Linked DNA regions of Homo sapiens: all the other regions are linked to region 1. Evidence: promoter capture Hi-C in 16 types of primary human blood cells and fetal thymus (Javierre and others, 2016). All regions are on one chromosome and are shown on one strand. The core of a region is centred on a gene start or on the middle of the fragment in contact, and the rest is flanking DNA. Distances in the headings are between cores, read along the strand shown. Region 1 holds the start of MYH6 (myosin heavy chain 6). Region 2 overlaps SLC7A8 (solute carrier family 7 member 8). Region 3 overlaps LINC00596 (long intergenic non-protein coding RNA 596).

The links. The method cuts DNA at HindIII sites, captures the fragments that hold promoters and counts their contacts. A CHiCAGO score of 5 or more calls a contact.
Region 2: a fragment that was not itself captured here is called in contact with the fragment with the promoter of MYH6 in region 1 in 1 of 17 cell types (erythroblasts); the score reaches 5.0 in erythroblasts.
Region 3: a fragment that was not itself captured here is called in contact with the fragment with the promoter of MYH6 in region 1 in 1 of 17 cell types (M2 macrophages); the score reaches 5.3 in M2 macrophages.

The regions. Positions count from the first base shown.
Region 1 is chr14:23,406,643-23,409,597 of GRCh38, reverse strand. MYH6 (myosin heavy chain 6) reads left to right here and starts at 1,325. Exons shown (of 39, transcript NM_002471.4): 1 at 1,325-1,345; 2 at 1,990-2,022; 3 at 2,362-2,575. The coding sequence starts at 2,375. RefSeq lists enhancers at 1,972-2,472, 155-2,955. The HindIII fragment of the contact is 15,953 bases long and covers 412-2,955 here.
Region 2 is chr14:23,130,259-23,133,309 of GRCh38, reverse strand. SLC7A8 (solute carrier family 7 member 8) reads left to right here. Exons shown (of 11, transcript NM_012244.4): 8 at 1,753-1,849. Among named protein-coding and RNA genes, the nearest start is that of CEBPE, 13 kb to the right of the region's middle. The HindIII fragment of the contact is 927 bases long and covers 1,329-2,255 here.
Region 3 is chr14:23,879,132-23,882,059 of GRCh38, reverse strand. The region is part of intron 2 of LINC00596 (long intergenic non-protein coding RNA 596); the gene reads left to right. Among named protein-coding and RNA genes, the nearest start is that of LINC00596, 22 kb to the left of the region's middle. The HindIII fragment of the contact is 1,773 bases long and covers 661-2,433 here.

The DNA of each region.
Region 1 (2,955 bases), core at 76-2,575:
GATGGGGAGCGGGGCCTTGAGGGCCTAGGGTGCTTGAGGACACCCACAAAGAAGGGAATGTGAGTATAAGCCCTGGAGGGCTTGGAAAGGGGCAACAAAATTCTGCCTGGGGAGGGGGCAGGTGGCAGAGCCCCACCCCGATGGAATGCAGTGCCTGGGGACCAGATGGTGTAAATCCCCAGGCCTGCCAGGCACCTGCACCCTCTGGCAGCCCGGTGAGGCAGAAGGGGACAGCCCCTCACCCACCCCCCTCCTCTCTCAGGCCCTAGGATTAGCACCATCTTCTTCTGCCCACCCCACCCCAGGAGCAGAGGGTAGCAGGGGAGGGCAAAAGCCTATGTGTGCAAATGCGGATGTGCAAATGTGTGCATCCATGTACACAAAAGAAAGTAGAAAAGAAATCTGCAAGCTTGAGTGGGTAAGTGTGAAAAATCTGCATGTGTGGCTGAAGATGGGCACAGACACGGTCAAGTCTGTATGTGAGAGTGCTGAACTGGGGTTCTGTGTGAAAATCTGCCTGAGGCGGCAGGGAGAATCACTGCCATTGCGTGAGCAGGTTGGATGTTGGCCACTCTATCAGGAGCATTAGGGAAGGGGTGGGGACTCCAGACGTGTCCCCAAACCAGGGTGGCCTCAAGACCTTGGGAGAACACTTGTCTGAAGACTTGGGGAACAGAAGGAGACCAGGCATGGCACTTATGCAGACTGAGGCCAGGACAGAATTTCCTGACAAAAGAAAACTGAGCCATGGAGATGGACAACAGATCCCTTCCCTGGGCACCATACTGCAGCTTTTAGTCCCTAGCACTGGGGGCTCCAGTACTAACAGCAGGAAGATGCTCCCAGCCTGGGACTGTGTGAGGGAGGTCAGAATGGGAAGGAGAGGCTGGGGAACAGGGGAGGAAAGCCCATGGTTGGGAGGCGGAGGACAGGCATTTGGCCTGCAGGAGAAGGTGACCCTCACCCATGTTTTCAGTTCACCCTTCGGGTTAAAAATAACTGAGGTAAGGGCCATGGCAGGGTGGGAGAGGCGGTGTGAGAAGGTCCTGTCTTCCCACTATCTGCTCATCAGCCCTTTGAAGGGGAGGAATGTGCCCAAGGACTAAAAAAAGGCCGTGGAGCCAGAGAGGCTGGGGCAGCAGACCTTTCTTGGGCAAATCAGGGGGCCCTGCTGTCCTCCTGTCACCTCCAGAGCCAAAGGATCAAAGGAGGAGGAGCCAGGAGGGGAGAGAGGTGGGAGGGAGGGTCCCTCCGGAAGGACTCCAAATTTAGACAGAGGGTGGGGGAAACGGGATATAAAGGAACTGGAGCTTTGAGGACAGATAGAGAGACTCCTGCGGCCCAGGTAAGAGGAGGTTTGGGGTGGGATGCCCTGCAGCCCGTCCACAGAGCCCCCACCGTGAGGGACCTCCTTCACCAGGAGTGGGGTGCAGGTCAGTTGGAGGCCTAAGGGCTCTATTAAAACTGCCTATCTCCAGGCCCAGGGAAGTTCCCCCTGACACAAGGAGGTTCCACAGGAAACCCAGAAACCTCTTTTCTCCTTCTCTGACTCTCCATTTCTTTCTCTGCATCATTCTGAGTCTCCTACATGTTGTCTCCATCTTTCCATCTTCCTTCCTCCTTTGGATGGCTTCCTTCCCTTGATCCTGGTTTTATCTTGCCTCTTGGTCTTCATCGACACTTGTCACAATCATGCTTCTTTGTCTCTCTCCCTTGTCCTTCCTTCTTGGCACGTGTTCTCACCTCCCTGCCTCTCTGCTTCTAACCCTGTTTCCACACCCCGTCCCTCGCACTCATATTGACTCGGTGCCCTTTCTTTTCTGCCTCTGCGTCTTTCCCTTTCTGACTCCCTGGTCTGTCCTGCCTGTCTGCGCTCTGGGGCTGCCTCCATCCCCGGGTGGCCTGCCTCTGTTGTTCTTCACTCTCCTCATCTGTTCTTCTCTCTGCCCGGCTCTACCTCTGTTGTTCCTTGCTCCACCCACGGTCCAGATTCTTCAGGATTCTCCGTGAAGGGATAACCAGGTGAGAACTGCCCCCATTTTCTCTGCAGAGACTGGGGCATGCTTCTCCTGGGAGCCGGATTGCTGGACCAGGGGTCTGCTGTCCCAAGCACTCAGCGCCAACCCTTAGCATACTCCAGCCAATGCCACCCCAGGGAAACCCCTTACAGAGATTGTCCTTCAGCATCACCTCAGAGGGCAGGAGAAGCAGAGCCCTGAGTAGGGGAGGGTGCAACAGCAGGTGCCTCTCCCAGGGTGGAGGAGAGGAGCGGGGGTAGGGAGGGGGGCTGCAGAGGACAAAGCCACTCGCTGGAGCCTGGGCTCCCTCAGGAGTAACATAGCCCTCCTGTCTCTGACCCAGGGGAAGCACCAAGATGACCGATGCCCAGATGGCTGACTTTGGGGCAGCGGCCCAGTACCTCCGCAAGTCAGAGAAGGAGCGTCTAGAGGCCCAGACCCGGCCCTTTGACATTCGCACTGAGTGCTTCGTGCCCGATGACAAGGAAGAGTTTGTCAAAGCCAAGATTTTGTCCCGGGAGGGAGGCAAGGTCATTGCTGAAACCGAGAATGGGAAGGTGAGTAGGGCATGGCGCCGGGGCAGAAGGGAAGGAGGTCTGGGAAAGAAGATGCAGAGGTGGAGCCACTTGCAGGGGGAGCTGAGAGGGCTGGAGAAAAGCCAAGGCCAGTGGGGATGCCAGGACATGCTCCTTTGAGGAGCCCAGAATCTGATCCCTCTCAAATTGACCTGAGCTGGTGCAACAGGTGCCACCCAGGGCCATGTTCCCCCTGCCAGAGAGGATGCTGAGGAAGAAGAACCTCAGTGTTCGCCTAAGAGGGGTCTTGTAGATAAAGAGGGCACAGACACAGCATTAAATGATGCCCCCTTCTTGCACTTGTATCCCTCTTCCCTGTGCCTCAGTTTCCTCCATGAGTCCACTTTCTCAAATTCCGTTCA
Region 2 (3,051 bases), core at 543-3,042, 280 kb after region 1:
GCCACCACACCTGGCTAATTTTATTTTTATTTTTTGTAGAGACAAGGGTCCACTATTTTGCCCAGACTGGCCTCAAACTTCCGGGCTCAAATGATTCTCCCGCCTCAGCCTGCCAAAGTGCTGGGATTGCAGGTGTTACCCACCGTGCCCAGACAGGATATAATTTTTTTAAACTCAATCCCACAAGACAGGATATAAATTTTTAAGTACAATTTACATACAATAAAATATGCAGGCTGGGCGTGGTGGCTCATGCCTGTCATCCCAACGCTTTGGGAGCCCGAGGTGGGAGGATCATTAGAGCCCAGTTCGAGACCAGCCTGGGCAACATGGCAAGACCCTGCCTCAATTTTTTTTTTAAAAAGCAGATCATAGGCTGGGCATAGTGGCTCATGCCTGTAATCCCAGTACTTTGGGAGGCCGAGGCGGGCAGATCACCTGAGGTCGGGAGTTCGAGACCAGCCTGACCAACATGGAGAAACCCCGTCTCCACCAAAAATACAAAAATTAGCTGGGTGTGGTGGCGCATGCCTGTAATCCCAGCTACTCGGGAGGCTGAGGCAGAAGAATCGCTTGAACCTGGGAGGCGGAGGTTGCGGTGAACCAAGATCGTGCTATTGCACTCCAGCCTGGGCAACAAGAGTGAAACTCCGTCTCAAAAAAAAAAAAAAAGCAGATCATAAATGTTCATTTTGATGAGTTTTGTGGGGGTTTTTTTGTTTGTGTTTGTTCATTTTTGTTTTTTATTGTTGTTTTTTAGAGGCAGAGTCTCACTATGTTGCCTAGGCTGGCTTTGAACTTCTGGGCTCAAGCAATCTTCCTGCTTCAGCCTCCCAAGTAGCTAGAAATATAGGTGTGTGCCACTGTGCCTGGCTTCCATTTGATGAATTTTGACAGTTGTCAAAATTCAACCACTACCCAAAACAAGATAGAGAACATTTCCACCACCAATTCCCTACTCCCACAAAGACAACTAACTACTCTCTGACTAGGACAAGAGTGTTTTTAGGCCAGGCGCGGTGGCTCACGCCTGTAGTCCCAGCACTTTGGGAGGCCGAGGCAAGTGGATCACGAGGTCAGCAGTTCAAGACCAGCCTGGCCAAGATGGTGAAACCCCGTCTCTACTGAAAATACAAAAATTAGCTGGGCATGGTGGCACACACCTGTAATCCCACCTTCTCGGGAGGCTGAGGCAGAGAATTGCTTAAACCTGGGAGGCGGAGGTTGCAGTGAGCCGAGATTGCAGCACTGCACTCCAGCCTGGGCGACAGAGTCAGACTCCATCTCAAAAAAAAAAAAAAAAAAAAAAATAGAGTGTTTTTAAAGCTTTCCATATGCAGTTCAGTCCCAGTGTATTAGGGAATCTGCATCCTTTGAGGATGTGAGGAATGCTTTTAAAGAGATGAAGATTTTAGGCAACAGACAGAGGCTGCTCCTGCAGCCTTCCAGGCATTGGGAACACCCCACTGAGTGACAGTACAATTATCAGTAACCCTGAGCCACCCATACCACATTCAGGGTCTAACATACCCAGGGTTCATCCACTTTTCCACTGGCTGCCTCTGGTTTGCTTGCACCTGCATTTGTGAACACAGGTTCTGTGACTGGTGGGGTGGAAAGTATGCATGTGAAGGCGGGTGCCTGGTTGGAGTGGGGATGCCCCTGTGTGGGCAGAAGGTAGGCAAGGATGAAGGAGCTGGGGCTTGGTGGTCCCTGGGTTATCCCAGGCTGACCTGCTTTTCTCCCTGACAGGCTGTTCTTCGCTGGAGCCCGAGAGGGCCACCTTCCCAGTGTGTTGGCCATGATCCACGTGAAGCGCTGCACCCCAATCCCAGCCCTGCTCTTCACAGTAAGGGCCCTTCCTGCTGTAACTCTCCACACACCTCCCTCTCTTTGTGCCTAGTCTAAGCTGGGAGTTCATGCTTTTCACACACACCCCTGTTACCCTTGCAGTCTGCTGCTAGGTCTCACTGGATCTTAGAGGATCTGGCAAATGATACCCATCATCTTTGTTAATATCAAGAGATATAGCAAGGAAAGATCCTGAGTCTTGAAATACCTAAGGCTCTCAGGCTGACTTATTTCCGTTCTCCCATCCTTTTGGGTCAGACTGAACTGACTGTCTCAGGATTCTACAGCCTCAAAAAAAATATATCTCCCTTGGCTCTCCTCGCACCTGTTACCACAGGGTTGCAGCACTGGCCTCTGCTCCTGGCTGGTTGGTCCCTGCAAACACCCACTTCCCCCATCAAGCTTCAGGGCAGCCTGCCAGTCTCTTGGGAAACATCATTGAAATGAAGTTAGTGTTAACAGTACACCAAATACGAAAAATAATAGAGGAAGACTGATAAACTGGAAACTGTGCAAAGGAAACTTGGGACAGGAAAGAGATGGGAGTAAAATATCCCCAGAGTAGAATCATTTTGAGAGAGCTATAGGAAGGAACAAAGACTTGTCCCCATTGAGTCTTTTGAGTTATTTTTATTTTCCTTCTGGATCCTGAATAAAACACTAAAAATGACTTTGGTCCACTGGTGAAGCAGTTAGCAATCAGAATAACAGAGCTCTTGGGAGCCAAGAGCATTTTACAGCATTGCTGTACAATTTCAGAATGTTCAGATGCAGGATGAAGGTCACCTTGACTGGTTGGTTGTCGAAGGTGGCTGGAGAAGACAGTACTCCCAGTGGGCCACACACATTTTTTTGTTTTGTTTTGTTTTGTTTTTTCCAGTTAGAGCTATTGGTGCAGTAGTGTGACTAAAAGGCAGATGTAGCAAGAACCATTAAAATCTTCTCGATTATTTTAACCATCGGATCTCACAAGAGAACAGAACCTTTTGTTGACCTTCACAAGTTATCAGAGGGGAGGAGCATGGTTCCAAGAGAGCCACAGAGATGATTTTGAAGTTGGAAAGTAGACTCTGTCAAGAAAACCTCATAGGGATGTTATGAGGGTTAAGTGAGTTAATCTTTGTCAAATGCTAAACATAGAGACCTGGCACACAGTAAGTGCTATGTAACCAGTTTTGAAATTAATAAAGAAAAGGAAGG
Region 3 (2,928 bases), core at 298-2,797, 470 kb before region 1:
CGCCTAGCTCATTACCACTCAGGTTAAGAAAGCACACTGCCAAGAACCCAGAAGCCCCTGTGTGTTGCTCAATTTCTGATGCCTTTCCATTATCTTAAGGCAATCATCCTCCCAAAGTAACTAGCACCCTGACATTTATGATGATTAATTTCCCACTTAAAAATACTTTATTAAGCATATATTTATAAACCCTACACTTTAGTTCTGCCTGTTTTTGAACTTTATATAAAAGGAATTATACAGTATGCATTCTGTGTAGCCTGGCTTATTTCACTCAACATTATTGATGAGATTCATCCATGTTGTTATGTGTAGTAGCAGGTTATTGTTTTTCACTTCAATCCCAGTTTTCAGTGGTAGATTAAAGAAACACTCACAGTCCTTCACTCTTTCCAATACCCATGCCTTTTGCAATGTGACTTTAGAGCTCCTCCCATGAAGAAATGGGGTCTAGTTCTCTTCCCTGGAATCTGGGCTGGCATTGTGGCTTCCTTTGGCCAATAGAATATGGTCAGGGTGACCACACGCCTATTCTGAGCATAGGCCTCCAGCAGCCTGTGTGCTTCTGCTCTGTATTTCAGGACTCCTGCCTCAGCCACATGAAAAAGGCTGGGCTAGACTGCTGGAGAATGATGTATGTGGAACACAGCTGAGTAAGCTTGGTTGTGTGGGCTAAGCCCTCAGAAATTAAAAGAATCTCACAGATGCATGAGGCAGCTCAGTTGAGACCAGAACTCCCCAGCTGAATTCAGTCTAAATTGCTGATCCATAAAATTGTGAACTCAATGAAAAGTCACTAAGTTTTGGGGTAGTATGATAGACAACCAATACATATTTCATTGATGTCTGTACCACAATTGATCCATTCTACTGTTGATAGAAATGTAACTTGTTCCAGTTATATAAATTGCACTTCTATAAATTGTGCTGCTATAAAACATTCTTATCATGCCTCCTAGGGCATATGTGCATGCAGTTCTATTGGGCATATATCCAGAATTGAAATTTCCTAAATTTTTTTTTTTTTTTTTTTGAGATGGAGTCTCGCTCTGTCGCCCAGGCTGGAGTGCAGCGGCACCATCTCGGCTCACTGCAAGCTCCACCTCCTGGGTTCACGCCATTCTCCTGTCTCAGCCTCCCAAGTAGCTGGGACTACAGGCACCTGCCACCACACCCAGCTTATTTTTTGTATTTTTAGTAGAGATGAGGTTTCACTGTGTTAGCCAGGATGGTTTCAATCTACTGACCTTGTGATCCACCTGCCTCAGCCTCCCAAAGTGCTGGGATTACAGGCGTGAGCCACCGCGCTGGGCCAAAAAATTTTTTATAGCTACATAATAGTTTTACATATTTATGGGGTTTGATATTTTGATACAAACATACATTGTATAATGATCAAATCAGGGTAATTGGGGTGTCCATCACCTCAAGCATTTATCATTTATTTGTGTTAGGAACATTCCAATTTCACTCCTCTAGTTATTTCAAAATATACAAAAATTACTATTAACTATAGTTGCCCTATTGTGTTACCACTGGATCTTACTCCTTCTATCTAACTGTATTTTTGTACCTGTTAGCCAACCCCTCTTCATCCTCTAATCACCTCCACAGTTCCCAGCTCCTGGTAACCATCAACCTACTCTCTATTTCCATTAGATCGACTCTTTAGCTCCCATATATGAGTGAGAACATGTGATATTTGTCTTCCTGTGTCTGGCTTATTTCACTTAATATAATGTCCTCCAGTTCCATCCATGTTGTTGCAAATGACAGGATTTCATTACTTTTTATGGCTGAATAATATTTCATTGTTGTATGTGTACCACCATTCGTCCAATGATGGTTACTTAGGTTGATTCCATATCTTTGCTATTTGTGAATAAACATGGAAGTGCAGATATCTCTTTGATACACTGATTTCCCTTTTTTTTTTTTTTGGATATATAGCCATCAGTGGGATTTGCTGGATCATATGGTAGCTTAATTTTTAGTTTTTTGAGGAACCCCCATATTGTTTTCCGAAATGGCTGTACTAATTTATATTCCTACCAATAGCGTATGAGCATTCCCCTTTCCCCACATCCTCACTGGCACCTGTTGTTTTATTGTCTTTTTGATAAAAGTCATTTTAACTGGGTTTAGATGATATATCACTGTGGTTTTGGTTTGCATTTCTCTGATGATTAATGATGTTGCACATTTTCTTCACATACCTGTTGGCCATTTGTATATCTTCTTTCAAGAAAGGTCTGTTCACATCTTTTGCCCATTAAAAAAATTGGATTACTTGTTTTCTTGCTGTTGAGTGGTTTGAGTTCCCTATATATTCTGGTTATTAATCCCTTGCCAGTTGAATAGTTTGCAATTTTTTTCCCATTCTATAAGTTGTTTCTTCACTTTGCTATTCGTTTCCTTTGCTGTGAAGAAGCTTTTTAGTTTGATGTGATCCCGTTTGCCCATTCTTACTTTGGTTGCCTGTGGTTTTCAGGTCTTACTCAAGAAGCCTTTGCCCAGACCAATGTCTTGGACAATTTCCCCAATGTTTTCTTCTAGTAGTTTTATAGTTTCCGGCCGAATTGGAATTTTTAGCTCATAGAGTATTATATCTTTACCTTTAATAGTTAATGACTTTATTTATAAAATAGCTGTATGAATTTATACTTCTATCATCAGCATATAAGAGTTCTCATTGCTTCACATTCTGTGCCAACACATGGAATTGAAGAAACATTGAAAAGTTTGCCTTTGAGTTCAGGAACAAGACAAAAATGCCCACAAATACTACACCTTTTCAGTGTTATACTGGAAATCCTACCCAGTGTAGTAATTCAAGAGAATGAGTAAAAGGCATAAATATTGGAAAGGAAGAAATAAGGTGTTATCATTCATGGATCATCTGATGATTGGATATTTAGAAAATCCGAA